Linked DNA regions of Homo sapiens: region 1 is linked to region 2. Evidence: promoter capture Hi-C in 16 types of primary human blood cells and fetal thymus (Javierre and others, 2016). All regions are on one chromosome and are shown on one strand. Each heading gives the region's core, a stretch centred on a gene start or on the middle of the fragment in contact. The rest is flanking DNA. Distances are from core to core; before and after follow the strand shown.

Evidence for each region. The method cuts DNA at HindIII sites, captures the fragments that hold promoters and counts their contacts. A CHiCAGO score of 5 or more calls a contact.
Region 1: a contact is called between a fragment that was not itself captured here and the fragment with the promoter of CARTPT in region 2, in 1 of 17 cell types (M1 macrophages). The highest score is 5.0, in M1 macrophages.

Annotation. Positions count from the first base shown.
Region 1 is chr5:72,282,642-72,285,736 of GRCh38, reverse strand. The region is part of intron 4 of MRPS27 (mitochondrial ribosomal protein S27); the gene reads left to right. LOC107986422 (a long non-coding RNA gene) reads left to right here. Exons shown (of 2, transcript XR_001742742.2): 2 at 2,079-3,095. Among named protein-coding and RNA genes, the nearest start is that of MRPS27, 36 kb to the left of the region's middle. The HindIII fragment of the contact is 1,122 bases long and covers 909-2,030 here.
Region 2 is chr5:71,717,923-71,721,139 of GRCh38, reverse strand. CARTPT (CART prepropeptide) reads right to left here and starts at 1,865. Exons shown (of 3, transcript NM_004291.4): 1 at 1,688-1,865; 2 at 1,177-1,260; 3 at 95-632. The coding sequence starts at 1,846. The coding sequence ends at 525. RefSeq lists an enhancer at 841-1,727. The HindIII fragment of the contact is 2,457 bases long and covers 256-2,712 here.

The DNA.
Region 1 (3,095 bases), core at 220-2,719, 560 kb before region 2:
CCTGAGCAACATAGTGAGACTCCGTTTCTACAAAAATGTTTTTAAAGATTAGCTGGTCATGGTGGTGTGTGCCTATAGTCCTAGCAACTCAGGAAGCTAAGGCTGGGCCTTGTTGTCCTAACTACTTAGGAGGCTGATTCCAGAAGTTCAAGGCTACAATGAGCTATGATCGAGCCACTGCACTCCAGCCTGAGTACTAGAGCAAGACCCTGTCCCCCTCCCAAAAAAAGATTATTAGATGGTTGAAGATCATTAGATACGTGAAACAATTCAAAATCAACACAAATCCAGGATATGATAAGTAGATAAATTTACTGAATTTATGTAACAAAATGTAAGTTTTAGAGAAAACATGTTTTGAGCAGGCTAGAAGAAGGATTGATGTTGTTATCAGCAAACATTTATAAAAGAGGTAGAACTTAAGATAGCCTTGAAGGTTAGATGAGTAGAGGAAACAGGAGCAAGTGTTCAAGATGGAACAAATCGTACAGCTGGAGTTAGAAGGAGGAAGTGAGAACTAGCTTTATGGAAACTGCCTTAACCAGAGAGATCAGGGTTTGTTGGGGAATAATGAGAAATAAGGAAGGCAGATTAGAGAGGGAATAGAATGTTGGCAGGAGAGAAGGGAGGGTTCAAAATCTGTCATTATCATACATTGCTAGTGGATATATAAATCGGTACAACTTGTATAGATAGAACTTTGGCAGCATCTGTCAAAATTATAAGTACAATACCCTCTGGCCCAATAATTCCACCTCTAGGAATTTAACCTCCTGATACACTCATATTCATGCCAAAAATGTCCATTGCAAAAAGTAAAAGATTACGTCCATCAATAGAAGCCTGTTTAATTATTCTACAGCTGTACAGTGGAATACTGTGCAGTGATTGAAAAGAATGAGGAAGCTTTATTTGTATTTCCTATTGAATAAATTGTGAAATGTATTAAGTGAAAAAAACAAGAGTAGGACTTAGTGTGTGATGTAGCCACTGTGGTTTATGTGTAATATGTATACATGTGCTTTGATGCTTATGTGTATATATGTATGTGTGTACATAAAATATCTCTGGAATGATACACACAAAAACTGGTAACATTGGTTTCTTTTAGGGAAGAAACCTGGATGACTTCTCATTGAATTGTCTCTTGTAACTTTTGAATTTTATATCATGGGTGTATATTACTTATTCAAAAAATACATATTTTTCATTTCTTCCCTTCCCTTCCCTCCCCCCTTCTCTTTTTCCATCTCTCTCTCTCACACACACACACAGAAGGAAATTAACCAAATTTTTTTTTTTTTTTTAATTTAAAGACAGGGTCTCACTCTGTTGCCCAGGCTGGCATGCAGTGGCAGGATCTTAGCTCACTGTACCCTCAACTTCCCAGGCTCAGGCAATTGTCCTACCTCAGCCTCCCAGGTAGCTAGGACTTTAGGCGTATGCCACCATGCCTGGCCTTTTTGGTGGTGTTTTTTTTTTTTTTTTTAGAGATGGGGTCTCACAATGTTGCCCAGGCTGGTCTTGAACTCCTGGACTCAAGCAATCCACCTGCCTCGGCCTCCCAAAGTGCTGGGATTATAGGCATGAGCCACCACACCTAGCCTGAAAAAATATTTTTTAAAAGATCCTCAAGATAGTCATCTGCAGATTCTTAAGAAGTATATATCATAATAAAAGTATTTCAGAAAGATTTATAACAGGGTAAATTTTTTATTAAAATTGGTAAATGTTATAAGGAAATTGTCTATGCATATAGAGAAAAAAGACCTGTCCTGTGGTAGTAGACAGTGGAAATAAAGAGAGAAATGTACATAGGAGGGAAAAAATTGGATCAGCAGGATTAATGGCAGGTTGAATGTAGAGACAGAAAACAAGGAGAGTCAAAAATGAACTGAAAATTGAACCTCAGTGGGAAAGTGGCTTGTACATGATAGAAGTATTGAATTGGAAGCAGATTTAGAAGGCAGCAAGAGGGTGAGTTTTTCTTTTGCCTTTTTTTTTTGTACGTACACATTTCTTTCTAAGCTTGCTGGATCATATCTTGCCTACTTGACCATACTTGGACTGTTTGACAGGAACTGGCCACAGACCTTTGGAGAAAGAACAATTGCCAAAACATACCCATTGGGTCTTCCTGGTGTATTGGCACTAGTTGGAAAATTTTAGACCAGATGACCTCTGAAGTCCTGCCAACTTCCGGAATCTGAAATTGCAACCTGGATAGACTAAGTGAGTCCCTTGGAGCCATGTGACAAGTCCAAGCTCCAGCTGTGGATGAGGCCTGACTTCAAGTTCAGAAGCTCATCAGCTAGCCCAGTGTATCTCTTTGTGTCAGTTTTTTTTCCTAAGCAGTTTCAGTAATATACCAAAAGATACAGACTCAATGAACATTTTGAAACCTCCTAACAGTGTGACATAGAATTAATTAAACCTAGAAAAAAATTAACATAAAAAGAAATTCAACAATGAAAATGTATTATCTTGTGGGGGAGGTACTAAAAAGACCCTGAAGGAGTCAGGATGGGAAGAAAGAGGTGACTGGGGTCTTAGGACCAGTTTAGTCCCCACTTTGATCTGTAGCTTTGAACTAGTTAGTGAACTCTCTGGACATCAGCTTTCTAGATGAGCAGATCATCTTGGATGCCTCCCAAGGCACTTCCCATAGCTAAAACATAATGTTTCTTAATGTCACTGATAAGATTTTATCACCAGATGCCTCAGACTTTGAAAGCATGTAGCTCTGGCTTTTTGTTTAGTTTCTCACGCAGAATTTTATTCACTTTAAAATTGAAGTTCCAGCCGCCTTAACTATGAATATCAAGAGAAAAACTAATAGATGTAAAAGTAAACAACAGAAAGGGTAGAAGATCTCTTATTCTCTTCTGGATTTAGGTGACAGACTTCATTTACTATCTTGTTTGTGAATATATTTAGTAAATTTTGTGGTATGAGAAGTTGGGTATCCACTCTTATTTATCCTCTAGGTAACTAATTTTTATACATATGTACTTGCCTTTTTCCTGCAAGGCCCACAAACCACATGTTTTTGATGCCTTGTATATACATGAGATTTAAAAGGAGAAGGCTAAAGT
Region 2 (3,217 bases), core at 616-3,115:
ATTTTTAAAATATTTTTCTTTGAAAACAACAGCATGATTAATCTCACCATTTCCACTTAAATTACTTATATGAAAACAGCAGTGCACTATGGGCAATTATTAAAAACACTTTATTATGTATAATTTGTACATGCTTCAATTTGTGTCACTTAGGGTGATTTATTTTCCAGGTTGTAATGACATCTACCGAGATTAGCTAGATCTAATTTTCATTCTGCCATGCCACATACAAAAATACAATTTTCAAACAAAGCTTCCCTTCTTTACACAAAGGTACACAAGAGTTTGTCAGACAAATAAAATAAGAATACTTCACACACGTATCAACACCATACAAGGCATTATTCTTCACACAGTAACATCTAATGTGTTCTTTTATTTTTGAAACAGCAGGAAAAGAGCCCTTTCCCTTCAGAGGAAAATAAAAACTTTATCTGTTGCTTAAGCCAAACTCCAGGGAGGAAGGTGTGGTCCTCTGGGGAAAGTAGAGGGATGGGGATGTATGGAGGAGAATGGACGCCCCTTCATAAGCACTTCAGGAGGAAGGAATTGCAGGAGGTTCCTCGGGGACAGTCACACAGCTTCCCGATCCTTGCCCCTTTCCTCACTGCACACTGCTCACCGGCGTCACACTGAAACAACAAAATGTGTGGTCATCGAGTATGAACAAACCCAGGTTCCCAACAGGCAAGTCTCACAGTCAACGCAATTTCTGTCTCTTGAAAGGGGCAATTGGACCCCATCACCATCACAAGAGGTCTACGTACAGTCAGATCTGAAACAGGGAGCCTTGTGCTTATAACCTCAGTGAGAGTACATTTTTTAAAGAAACTTACATTATTAGTTTTATCCTAGTTTCTTCCACCTTTAAGTGGCGAGGGTTGGGGGGCGTGGGAAGGGGAGCATCACATTTCCTGGCTCCTTTTCTTGCCCTCTCAGAGGGGAAAAAAATCAGACCTTTTTCCTGAGCAACAAACAATAGACTTACACTTTCTTACAACCCCTGTTCCTGCTTTCCCATTTCCTCACCCGGGAAGGAAGAAGGAGCCCACAGAATCCTGCAAGCCCATTACCTAAGTTATTTAGCCACATCCTACGGAGAAGACTGTGTGTACGATTCAAGGCGGTGTACTTTCTCTTGGAAAAACACGGGAAGGGAGTGACCACAAACCTTACCATGGGGACTTGGCCATACTTCTTCTCATAGATGGGAACACGTTTACTCTTGAGCTTCTTCAAGACTTCTTGCAGCGCTTCGATCTGCAACACACCGCTTCGGAGCCTGAAGTTGCCGCCTTGGCTGCGAGCCCAGCCCAGGTGCGCACTTCCAGCCCTAGTTATAAGGAGCCCCGGACCCACACGCACTCTGCGGTGGGACTCCGCGGACACAGGGAATGGTCGAGGGGTGGAAACTTAGCGGACGCTGTCCCAGGTACTGACCGCGGGTCTCTGAGCCGCTGGGGTCCCTGTTGCTCAGAGGGGCCGGGATGAGGGATTCGCTCAACAGACTGCCAGGAGCCCGTGAGCTCGAGACGCTCTTCGGATGGCAGTGGGTGCCTGGGCGTTGCGCTCAGCTCCCCGCGCCCTGACTCTGGGAATAGGAGTGGGGGTGGGGGGAGGAGGGAGGCGTGCAAGAGAAGAGACAAGGCGACAGCTCAAGGGGGTCGAGAGCGAGGGGAATACCGACCAGCTCCTTCTCGTGGGAGGCATCATCCACGGCAGAGTAGATGTCCAGGGCTCGGGGCTGGAGCTCGGCGTCCTCCTGGGCACGGGTACCCAACAGAGGTAGCATCAGCAGCAGGGCGGCGCCCAGGAGGGGCAGCAGCCTCACGCGGGAGCTCTCCATCGTTCTGAAACTCGTCGTTGCTGGGGCACCACGCGCTCCCACCTTTTATAGTGAGCCCGAGCCCCCGTGCAGGAAAGAGGGAGGAGGCGAAGAAGGAAGGGGGTGTGGAGGAGGGCCCGGGTCAACCGTCTGTAGGCAGCGCTCCGCCGGCGCTTGACGTCAATGCCCGCCGGGTTCCAGGCGCCTGGGAACGAGGCTCTGCGCACAGATGGGCTAGAGCGCAGAGAACAGGACCCTGCGCCCCCAAAGGCTGTCAGTCTCACGGCAAGGGATGCTCCCCGAGGGGCCTGAGCTGAAGCCGAGGGGCTAGAGGTGAGGGACGGGAAGCGGGAGGGGCCTAGGAAATGGAAAATGCCTTCGGGTCAATGCACAGGCAGGAGAGTCGTTTCCCAACACCTAGCAGTGGTGACAGCTGCAACATCCACCTCGCCAGCCCTGCCTTGCCTCGCACCCCAACCCCAAGTGTGGCGGTGAGAAGGGGGTGTTGCCTCCAGACAGCCACATTTGCTGAGCACCTTACTCTGTGGGGTAGGGGAAGCAAACATACTATACAAAAGAAAGAGAAATAGTGGCCCTCCACGTGATGGGTTCTATGATGGAATCTGTGTGACAATAGTTAAAAGAAGAGAGGGAAAACAGACAAACCCGGATTCAGCAGTGGTGTTGGAAGTGCAGAGAGCCAGGCTCTGGTTCCCATCCTGGCTACACCACGTAAAAGTTGTATGACTTTGAACAAAATGAAGAACCTCTCCAAGCCTCAGCTTTCTCTTTTGTAGATCTAGGATTAAAAAGATATACCTCACAAAGTCATCAGTAGGATGAAATGAGAGATTAAGTATGTCAAACTCCTGGTTCTTAGCTAAGCTTCCCTGTCCCTCCTTTTTGAACTTTGAGGCTGCCCAGGCAAATTTAACCATCCCCAGAACCTCCCCCCACCCACCACCAACCCTTGGTATCCAAGAAGCCTGTCTAGAAAGAGAGTAAAAGAGTGAAAAGAAAGACAGCTCCATGATTATGAAAATATCTCCAGAGATCAGAAGTCAATGGTGAACCAGCTCCCCAACAACTTGGGAGAACAATGTGGCTTTTTTAAAAGTTGAGATCCTTACAGCCTGAATGCACAGGAAAATTCCTGTAGGAAAAGCAATGCTTTCCCGCTTAGACCTGCTTGCTCACCTGGCTTCCTTCACCACACCATCTTTCCCTCAACTGTTCCTAAATTCATCCACTCTTCTCCATCCCCATTACTACAACCCAGTCCTAGACAGCTGCCCCAGTCAACTTAATGTCTACCACTTAATCCCCACCCTATCTTCTCTTGCCTTCCTCTACTCCATAGTTCACCACCAACCAGAGTATTTTTCCCCTTAA